Regions from separate parts of the Homo sapiens genome. Here region 1 is linked to region 2. Evidence: promoter capture Hi-C in human tissues and cell types (Jung and others, 2019). All regions are on one chromosome and are shown on one strand. Each heading gives the region's core, a stretch centred on a gene start or on the middle of the fragment in contact. The rest is flanking DNA. Distances are from core to core; before and after follow the strand shown.

What was found. The method cuts DNA at HindIII sites, captures the fragments that hold promoters and counts their contacts. A contact is called where the count stands out against the background at its distance.
Region 1: the fragment with the promoter of NT5C2 here is called in contact with a fragment that was not itself captured in region 2 in 2 of the 25 tissues and cell types used here (dorsolateral prefrontal cortex and hippocampus).

What each region holds. Positions count from the first base shown.
Region 1 is chr10:103,189,182-103,194,844 of GRCh38, reverse strand. NT5C2 (5'-nucleotidase, cytosolic II) reads left to right here and starts at 1,573. Exons shown (of 19, transcript NM_001351169.2): 1 at 1,573-1,609. RefSeq lists a silencer at 1,479-1,758 and enhancers at 1,457-2,143, 2,144-2,832. The HindIII fragment of the contact is 10,406 bases long and covers 1-4,745 here.
Region 2 is chr10:102,787,186-102,792,844 of GRCh38, reverse strand. All of the region lies in intron 1 of WBP1L (WW domain binding protein 1 like), which reads right to left. Among named protein-coding and RNA genes, the nearest start is that of CYP17A1-AS1, 43 kb to the left of the region's middle. The HindIII fragment of the contact is 4,714 bases long and covers 1,316-5,659 here.

The sequences.
Region 1 (5,663 bases), core at 324-2,823, 400 kb before region 2:
ACCTCCGCCTTCCGGGTTCAAGCGATTCTCCTGCCTCAGCCTCCCGAGTAGCTGGGACTACAGGTGCGTGCCACCATGCCCAGCTAATTTTTGTATTTTTAGTAGAGATGGGGTTTCGCCATGTTGGTCAGGCTGGTCTTGAACTCCTGACCTCAAATGATCCACCTGCCTTGGCTTCCCAAAGTGATGGGATTACAGGTGTGAGCTACCACGCCCCGCCACCCTGGCCTTTTTTCAAATGCACTTGGTTTAAAGATTGTGTTATGCCAGCTTCCAACCCCTATTCCTCTTTTCCATATATCCTGAGAAATTTAGAAGGTGAGGGGCCCAAGGTCTATCCTTAGCTGACCTGAAGCGAAGTTGGCTGAGAAGCACAAGAAGGGGTAGAAGTGCTCTGGCGGAGCACTTATTAAAAAGACGCGGAGGTTTTGGTTGACTGCAAGCCCAATATGAGTCAACAGTATGGGTGCCAAGAACTTTATCGCAGGAGTGCAAAGCGATAGGTCCCAAAAGGAGGAAGCTATAGTCCTGCTTTGCTCTGATGATACCACAAACATTTGGTTCAGTCTTGGGTGATGTATTCTAAAGAAATCACAGTCAAATCTACCATTTGCGTGAGAGGGATAAAGACCCTCAAAACCAGGGCAGAGGAGGAACAATGGAAGGAACGGGAGACACTGATGTGGAATGAGAAGACCTTGGGCAGAGGTGATAGAAGTAAAGTATCTGAAAAGTCAAAGGTCCAGGAGAGATTAGACGTTTGTTCTCTGTGGCTCCAAGGCATCGAATTTCGGCCCTGAGAGTGGAAGTTTAGACACATTTTCTCACTGGTGAGAGCTGCTCGGACCAAGGAATTCAGTCCTCTGGAAATAGCTAGCTGCTTTTGCGGAGTCTTCCTGCTGAGTTGCTGGTGGTGGGGTGAACATTTATTGAGTGCTTACTGTGTGCCAGGATCCTGCTGAGGGCCTCACCTATATTGTGTGATTTCATCCCGTCAACACCCTTTGATGTGGGGACTGTTGTTCCCTATCCTGGTGCTACAAATGTGGGCACCAGGTATAGGAGGTCAGGTACCTCGCCCGAGGTTACAGTTTGTAAGTGGTGGTACTGGGACTGGAACTCGTTCTGACAAACTTCAAAGCTGGTGTTTTTAGCCATCAAGGGGATTCGAGGGTGCCATGGGGGTGTGGACGCATGAGGGGCCTTGAGGTCCATTAGACCAAAACATTCTGTGACTGGGAAAAAGGATGCCCTCTCCTCCCAAGGAAAAGCTTCTTCTGAATGAGACACAGTGGAGAGGTTAGCCCAGGGCCAGGCTGAGGGGCGCAGGCAGAATGCCAAGGGATGGAGACCCTCAGAAGGGCAAAGCCGGTGTTCCATCGTTTGAAGATCTCCAGACCCGCGGGACAGACAGACGCAGCGCGGTCAGGGAGCGTCGGCTTCGCCGAACTCTGCGGCGGAGCTGGGGGACGGAACAGCGCGCCGGTCCCTGGCCGGGCGCGAGCAGAGGGGCGGCGCGGGGCGGTGCCGGGCGGCGGGGGCGGGGAGGGCGCGCGTTGAGGCGGCTGCGGCAGTTGCGCGCTGGGATTGTTGCGGTGCGCTGGAGCCGGTGAGTGCGGCGGGCCCCGTGGGCGGGCGGGGAAGGAGCGGGCGAACGGGGAGCTAGGTGGGGAGGTGCGCGGCCGAACACGCGACCCCAGGGTAGCGGCCGCCGCCTGCCCCCGCCCCCGGCCCCCAGGGACCATGGCCCCAAGGCCCCTCTCCTTAGGCCGAGTCCCCGCCAGCGCGCTCGCGGACGCCGCACGCCTCCCAACTCCCTCGGTGCGGCCCCCGCCCCACGGCAGCCCCTTCCTCCGCGCCGCCGCGACGCCTCCGGCCCACGTCACGCTCGCGCCATTGTTTCCCAGCCGCCGGCTCGCTGGGACCCCGCCTCAGCCTCCCAGCGCGGCCGTTCGCCGCGTTCCGCCCTCTTCCCCCCTTTCCTCACGCTGGTGGTAGCCCTTTCCTCAGTCCTGCTGACGTCCTCCAGCTGATTCCAGGCTGTTCCCGGCCACCCCTGAGGCCGTCTTTTCGCTTCTTGTAAAAGCCTCCCCGCCCCCAGAGCTCCTCGGTCGCCTCCCGAGAAGCCAAGGGGCCTCTGGTGGAGCGCCAGGTTGACAGCGTTTTAGCAGGACCGCGAGAAACGGCCAGCTCGTTTGCCACACGCCCGTGTGCAACACTTCCTGGAAAGGTCACAGCGAATTGCAAGCCGCCACAAAAAACATCCGGACAGCTCCTGGTCAGGGGGCTGAGCCGTTCAGTGGCGGCCTATTCTTCTCCTTTTTTCGGGGCTCCTGAAATCGGAGAGGGCGAGATGCCGATCTGAGGCCTGAACCCTTAGTTTAAGAAAAACGTTTTGGGGGTTTGACTCCGGCAGGCCACAGCTTCTAAAAGCAGCAGGTAGAGGCTGCTGTCCGAATCGACGTTTTCCTGGGCTTTCACCTTTAGGGCCTTGATGTTTGAGGGGGGTCGTGCTCTGAAGTACAGCGCCCCGAAATGACTAGTCACCATTACAGGGGGGTGTGTGCGCGCCCGTCCAGGGGCCGATGAGTTCTTCAGGATTGAGCTGTACTTGGTTCCCAGTGTCTGTAGACTATTCATTTCGCCTCTTCAAGCAACGAATGCAAACTACTGACCATAATGTGAAAGGGAGAATATTGAAACTGTGTCATTTACCATGAAAACTTAGTGTTATTGCGTAGAGAAGGCTTTAGGTTTCAAAAATATTTACCACATGGCTTTTCAACAACGGTTAGAATTTATCCAGATGAAGACATCCAGGCCTGAAAGGGTGAAGTTCGAAAAGAGAAAAAAAATAGGTGTGAGCTGAGAGTGGAAAAAAAAAAAAGAACAAAAAAGGTTAAGTTCAAGAAAACATAGCTGGTTAGTAATTAAAATAAAAACTCCACATGCAGGGTTGATACTAGCATACACAGACTTATTTCTGAAGTGCATTTCCATTGCAGTGTAAACCACTACATTTCAACAGTATAGGTAGCTGCATTACTCTCATTGACCCAGAATTAAGGTTTTAGGATTTAGTAACCAACAAATCTGTAAAATAAGGTGGAGGGGCGCGGGGTGGAGTGGGGGGGGTTCTGAAGGAGATGTTATGCAAGATTCCTTTCAGTTCAAAGGTTTGATGCCATTGTATGAAAATTTACCATCAGCTACAAGTTTTCAGAAGTTTGTAATTGTAAGAAGATTTATATAGATAGTATTCCCTTATAGTACCTGCCACCCTTAACCAGAAGACATCACATCTTCCTAAAGAAAGCCAGATTACAATAGAATGTTAGGCACAGAGGTGCTCATTAATCTTTCTCTAGGCTATTTCTCCTGTTTTATGGGGAAAGAGGAGTACATAAAACACAGGTTTTTTTTTTTAAGTATTTCCTCTCTCTCTCTTTTTTTTTTTTTTTTGAGACGGAGCTTTGCTCTTGTTGGCCAGGCTGGAGTGCAATGGCATGATCTTGGCTCATTGCAACCTCCACCTCCCGGGTTCAAGCAGTTCTCCTGCCTCGGCCTCCCGAGTAGCTGGGATTACAGGCATGCGCCACCACGCCTGGCTAATTTTGTAGAGACGGGGTTTCTCCAAGTTGGTCAGGCTGGTCTCGAACTCCTGACCTCAGGTGATCTGCCCGCCTCGGCCTCCCAAGTACTGGGATTACAGGCTTGAGCCACTGCGTCCGACCCTGTTGCTTAATTCTCTTACCAAAAGCTTAATTCAGTGAAATAGTAAATAACAACAAATCCCCAAAAACAAAAACCCACAACTTTGTCATGTTATGACTGTGCTCTTTTAAAGTACTTACATAGACTGGTTTTTATCTAGTACACTTGCTGTGTACATATTATTTGGGATTTTGCTCTTACCAATATTTCTGGGATGTCCATGTATTTAGAGAATTCATCTAATCTTCATTAGTAGATGCTCTCTAATGTGCCCCGGTAGTCAACAATGCCTGGCACACAGGCTCTTAGTAAATTTTTGTTGAATAAGTGTTGTAATGTTTTGAGGTTTTTAGACATTTAACACAAAATACTAACTATCACAAGGCATATGTTGAGTGACGTGAGCAGTAAAGGCAGTCATACTTTCAGCCAGGAGACATTGCATTTATTTAAGGGCCCGGATTTTGTAGTCTGGCTTGCTACTTAACATCATGCAACCTCGGGGAACTCAGTTAACCTTAGACAAGCTCACTCAGTTTCTCTCACCTTGAGAAGGGAAAAATAGAACAAATTTTACAGAGTTATGTGGATTAAATAGAATAATTCAGTTGAAGTGATACTGGCACACATTAAGTTCTCTATAAATGTTAGTTTTTTTTGCTCAGAGTGAAGGAATATTAATGTAGCTTGGTGGGATCAGGAAAAACAGTAACACTTCAGAGTAGGGAGAAGATGCTGAAGTGGATGTATTGAGGGTATGATTAATAGATTGTTCTCACTAAAAGGGTTTGGTAGAGCAGTAGTCTGAGATAAAACTGGAAAGAGAAATTCTGGTAAGCAGTTTACAAGTATGCTACATGGATTCTTTGCAATTAGAGCGGAGTGAATGACCACCTGAGGTCAGGAGTTTGAGACCAGCCTGGCCAACATGGTGAAACCCCATCTCTACTAAAAATACAAAAATTAATCAGGCGTGGTAGCGCATGCCTGTAATCCCAGCTACTTGGGAGGCTGAGGCAGGAGAATCGCTTGAACCCAGGAGGCGGAGGTTGCAGTGAGCTGAGATTGCGCCACGCACTCCAGCCTGGGTGACAAGAGTGAAACTCTGTCTCAAAAAAAAAAAAAAAAAAAAAGAAAGCCACAAAATTAATGCGGCAAACCGGCCAGGTGCGGTGGCTCACGCCTGTAATCCCAGCACTTTGGGAGGTCGAGGCAGGTGGATCACCTGAGGTCAGGAGTTCGAGACCAGCCTGGCCAACATGGTGAAACCCCGTCTCTACTAAAAATATAAAAAATTAGCTGGGCGTGATGGCGCCCACCTGTAGTCCCAGCTACTCAGGAGGCTGAGACACGAGAATCGCTTGAACCTGGGAGGCAGAGGTTGCAGTGAGCCTATATCGTGCCACTGCACTCCAGCTTGGGCGACAGAGCATCTCAAAAAAAAAAAATTCAGTAAACAGTAAAAGAAAAAAGTTAAAAAAATTATGACAGTCTTAATCTTTGTTTTTTTTTTCGTTTTTTTTTTTGAGATGGAGTCTCGCTCTGTCGCCAGGCTGTAGTGCAGTGGTGCGATCTCGGCTCACTGCAGCCTCCGCTTCCTGGGTTCAAGCGATTCTCCTGCCTCAGCCTACCGAGTAGCTAGGACTAAAGGCGTGTGCCACCACGCCCAGCTAATTTTTGTATTTTTAGTAGAGATGGGGTTTCACCATGTTGGCCAGGATGGTCTCAATCTCTTTACCTCATGATCCGTCCGCCTTGGCCTCCCAAAGTGCTGCGATTACAGGCGTGAGCTACCACGCCCGGCCCTTAATTTTAATTGTTAAAATTTGATAAAGAAGGTGGGTAGTAGACATATCAAATGATCATTATATTATTTTCTGTGTGTTTGAAATATTTCACAGTATTTTAAGATGAACCTAAAATAAAACATTAAAGAAACTCCATTAAAC
Region 2 (5,659 bases), core at 2,423-4,922:
GGCAGGCAGATCACTTGAGGTCAGGAGTTTGAAACCAGCCTGACCAGCATGGAGAAACCCCGTCTCTACTAAAGATACAAAAATTAGCCAGGTGTGGTGGCACATGCCTGTAATCCCAGCTACTTGGGAGCCTGAGGCAGAAGAATCGCTTGAACCCGGGAGGTGGAGGCTGTGGTGAGCTGAGATCGCACCATTGCACGCCAGCCTGGGCAACAAGAGCGAAACACTGTCTCAAAAAAAAAAAAAAAAAAAGAAAAGAAAAAAAAAAGTAACTAGGAAGAGGACAGGGAAGAACATCGCAGGCAGAGAAAACGCTACAAGCAAAGCCCTTTTGGCTAGAAGGAGATGGTAGAAGTAGTAGATAGGAAAGTTAGGTAGGTGGGGACCACTCTGTACAGGGAGGTAACAAGATCATACTTGCATTTTAAAGATATCATCTTCCTGGCAATGTTTTCATTTGCACAAAACTCCATGGCTAAAACAAAACCCCAGAAAGCTAGAAATGTACAACTTGTCAAAAAGGAACTTTGGTGCATAATGAATGCGCTTACGCGAGGCCTTTCACCTCGGGAATGACCGTGGTAGTGGCTACTAGGAGCCCCATCTATTACAGGTATGTGCCTTCAGCCCCGGTGCCACAGTGACCAGCTCTGAGAGACAAGGCACACATGGTTACCAAACAGAAAACAAAGGCATAAAGAAGAGACAAGCAAGACCAACACCAAACTGGAAAAAACATTTTTACACTGGAAAGGATAAACAGTATGCCTTTTGCACATATGCAAAAAATTATCTCCTCTCTTTGGTGGCAGTATAAACTGTGGGACTAACAACATTTTCCTCAACAGTTTCCACATCTTACAGTTGCTATTCTTAGCTGAGCCACTGTAAAGGTCAATTTAATCAGCGTAAAAACTTTCTAAGTGCCAGCATAAAAAGACACACTGGGCAGTAATGTTTCCCCAGGCATGGTTTTAATCTGCCAATTTATGGGTCTGGAAAACTCTGCTAGCAACTGGCTAATGGCAACAGCGTCATGTCCTTAGGAAAACACTTTAAAGTTTAAGAGTGAAAAATAAGAATTGAAGTCCTTCCTGGGATGCTAAAGCACAGGACACCAAATATCTTGGCTGCTGGATATGAATTAATTTGGAGCATCACCTCTGGCTTTCCCTGCAGGAAGAACTAAATCTTTTTTTGTTTGTTTAAATAGAGACAGGGTCTCCTCATGTTGCCCAGGCTGGTCTTGAACTCCTGGGCTCAAGGGATCCTCCCACCTCGGCCTCCCAAAGTGCTGGGATTACAGGTGTGAGCCACCGTGCCTGGCCAAGAACTAATTCCTAATGGAAATGTTCAGTTCTCCAAATCATTTAACACATATGTATTGACCCCCTTCCCCCAACCATGTGCCAGGCACTATGTGGGATGCTATAGCTATAGCAATAAGCAAGAGATTCGGGGGGTGGGAGGGGAGAGTTTCCGCTTCTGGCAATATAGCTGGGTAGGTAACTAAAAATTATTCTGCTATAAAACCCTGGCTATACAACAATCACTTTTAATTACAAAGCTGAACTTGCAAGAAAGCAAGGAGGATCACCTGGGACCAAAAACGACAGCGGGAACTAGAAACCACAGTAGTAAATGAGATCAGGCCTTTCCAGTTGACCTAGAAAGTGGGGTAGTTTGTTGATCTTGGGCCCACCTGAAACAGGGAATTGGAACTGAGAACCAGTACAAAGCTGGCGCCCTCAGAGGGGGAGAACAGATTAGAAAAAACATTAGCCCACTGGCACATAGTGACAATAAAAACTCTGAAGTGGGAGGAAAACAGTATCTCCTCTAATAATGTGTGATCACAGATTATTTCAGATTTGAATTGTACTACTACATGGTCTGAGGATCCCCAAGCCAAAAATTTAACACAAAAAGTAGTCCCAGGCTGGCAATAAACCTGCAACATCTGGCAGAAATACAAAACTGAACAGATCTACCCTCAGCCACGGCACAAAGGATTCCTACACATAAAGTTCTGTTGGCCAGGCGCGGTGGCTCACGCTTGTAATTCCAGGACTTTGGGAGGCTGAGGCGGGCGGATGACGAGGTCAGGAATTCGAGACCAGCCTGGCCAACATAGTGAAATCCTGTCTCTAATAAAAATACAAAAAAATTAGCTGGGCGTGGTGGCGGGCGCCTGTAATCCCAGCTACTCCGGACGCTGAGGCAGGAGAATTGCTTGAACCCGGGAGGCAGAGGTTGCAGTGAGCCGAGATTGCACCATTGTACTCCAGCCTGGGCGACAGTGAGAGACTGTCTCAAAAATAAAAATAAAAATAAAGTTCTGTTGAAGATAAGCTCACAATCCAAAATATAAAAATGTATGCAAAACTAATCCATTACAAACAAGATGACAAATTCAACAAATAGCAGGATAAGACCCCCTGAAAAAAAGTCCCTATAAGATACAAGCATATCTCAAATGATTAAAGCCAAAAAGAAAGAATTAAAAACACAAGAAAAGAACACTACCAAACAAGAAATAGTAACAGGCAGATAAAACTTGTAGAAAAATAGTTATTGAAAGAAAAAACTCAACAGATGGGTCACACAGAGAGGAGACCAAGTTAAAGAGGAAATTGATGAACTAGAGAACAGATCTGAGAAAATTACCATCAAAGTGCTTCTACAAGAGAAAACATGGAAATGAAAAATGAGAAAGAAGCTTGAGAAGAAAAGAATGGAGGAGAGGAAATATTTAAAGGGATAACTAAAAATTTTCTATATAAGACTGATTAAAGATACAAAATTTCGGCCGGGCGTGGTGGCTCATGCCTATAATCCCAGCACTTTGGGAGGCCAAGTTGGGCAGATCATGAGGTCAGGAGATCGAGACCATCCTGGCTAACACTGTGAAACCCCATCTCTACTAAAAATACAATTAGCTGGGCGTGGTGGCGGGCGCCTGTAGTCCCAGCTACTCGGGAGGCTGAGGCAGGAAAATCGCTTGAACCTGAGAGGCGGGGGTTGCAGTGAGCCGAGATCATGCCACTGCACTCCAGCCTGGGTGACAGAGTGAGACTGTCAAAAAAAAAAAAAAAAAGATACAAAATTTCCAGATAATAAGAAGCCCACACCTAGGTACACTGTATGAAACTGCAGAGTGACAAAGGCAAAAAGATTTTTAAATATGTTCCAGTTGGGAAGACGGACAATTAACAAGCAAAATTATAATTTCACTAGCAGTAATAAGCTCCATGAGGATAATAAAACACGATAATGAGACAAAGAGTTTTAGATAGGGTGGTCAGGAAAGGCCACTCTGAGTAGGTGACATCTGAGTAGAGCCCTGACTGCTGAAAAAGAGCCAGCTTAACCAGACCGGTGAGAACAGTGTTCCAGGAAGAAGAAATATCAAATCCACGCAAAAACACCAGGGCAGAAACAAGCTTGGTGTGCTCAAGGAAGAGAAAGAAGACTAGTGTAGCTGAGTACAGTGATCTCAGGGAAAGCAGTGTGAAAGGGGAGCTAAGAATTCAGCTGAGGTCAGATCTCATAGGCTTTGTATAACAATTAAAATAATCTCCAGGCTGGGTGCAGTGGCTCATGCCTGTAATCCCAGCACTTTGGGAGGCTGAGGCAGGTGGATCACCTGAGGTTACGAATTCGAGACCAGCCTGGCCAACATGGCGAAAACCCATCGCTATTAAAAATATTTAAAAAATTAGCCATGCGTGGTTGTGCGCACCTGTAGTCCCAGCTACTCAGGAGGCTGAGGCACAAGAATCACTTGAACCCAGGCGGTGGAGGTTGCAGCAAACCGAGATTGTGCCACTGCACTCCAGCCTGAGCAACAGAGCAAGACTCCGTCTCAGTAAAAAATAAATAATAAAATAAAATAAAATAATCTCCAAAGTACCACAGTTTATGAATTCATTGTTGGCTTTGGCTAGTCCCTCCCTTAGGTTATGGTGGAGACTTGAATAAATATATAAATATTTTTGCAACTCTCATACTTATTCTTTACCTTGAGCCTTTATTTATCCCCCCCAGCCAGGTTGTGGCTGCTCTTGCAGAGTAAGCAACAAAACAAACTTTCCTTCCATTCTTGAACCAGGAATGGCTTTCTAGAAAGGAGACCAAAGTCTAGCACTGCATATCTACTAGGAAAAAGTTCTAAATGATTTTGGTAATGCTCTGTAGCTAAAGGATAACGCAGTTTTCATAAAGCAGACATTTGAAATGGCTAAATAAGACAGCAAACAACTTTAACTTAGAATCAGCTATTTTTGTTCTATCCTAGATAGAATCTTCAAGTTCTGAAAATGCAGCACTTTCAAGCCCAGGTCCTTAGAAACATATTTGTAGGTGGTAAGGAGGCAAAGCTTCATGTATTCACCTATATTTTTACCTATATTTTTACAATTAGAAAGTTAAGATCAGCCAGGTGTGGTGGCTCATGCCTGTAATCCCAGCACTTTGGGAGGCCGAAACAGGCGGATCATGAGATCAGGAGATCAAGACCATCCTGGCTAACACTGTGAAACCCCGTCTCTACTAAAAAATGCAAAAAATTAGCCGGGCGTGGTAGCTACTCGGGAGGCTGAGGCAGGAGAATGGCATGAACCCAGGAGGCAGAGGTTGCAGTGAGCCGAGATCGCACCACTGCACTCCAGCCTGGGTGACAGAGTGAGACTGTCTCAAAAAAAAAAAAAGAAAGAAAGAAAGTTAAGATCACGTTCTCCCTGATAGTATTGGTTTTGTTTTTTTTTTCCTGAGGCAGGGTCTCTGTCACTCAGGCTAGAGTACAGTGGCACGATCTCGGCTCACTGCAACCACCACCTCCCAGGTTCCAGTGATTCTCCTGCCTCAGCCTCCCGAGTAGCTGGGACATCAGGCGTGCACCACCACGCCCAGCTAATTTTTTGTATTATTAATAGAGACAGGGTTTCACCATATTGGCCAGGCTGGTCTCGCACGCCTGACCTCAGGTGATCCGCCCACCTCGGCCTCCCAAAGTGCTGGGATTACAGGCGTGAGCCACCGTGCCTGACCACTATTGGTTTTTTAGACTGTTCAAAGACCTGAGGGAAATAAAGAGAACTGTTCAAGGGCACACATTTTCAAATTGGGTAGAAGGAGAGTACAGAAGGGCTGAGGATGAAGAAAGTAAGCTCAAGAAGGGGGATGATGCAGCAGGAGTCCTGGCCTATTGCTTCCCATGTGTTAGTCTAGTCTCCCCTCTCTTTTTTTTCCCCCTCTGGAAACAGGGTCTCACTCTGTCACCAAGGCTAGAGTGTAGTGGCACGATCATAGCTCACTGCAGCCTCAACTTCCCAGGCTCAAGCAATCCTCCCACCTCAGCCTCCCAATTAGCTAGGACCACAGGCATACGCCACCACACCCAGCTAATTTTTTTTATTGGTTGTAGAGACAGGATCTCACTACGTTGCTCAGGCTGGTCTCAAACTCTGGGCTCAAGTGATTCTCCTGCCTCAGCCTCCAACAGTGCTGGGATTTCAGTCGGGAGCCACTGTGCCCAGTCTAATCTCCCTTTCTTTGATGGTGGGGTTGTCATGTACTACTTTCGTATCCTTTCTAGTATATACCACACCTGACAATTATTCCATAAGCTTTGGCTAAAAGAGCTTACTCAATTCCATCC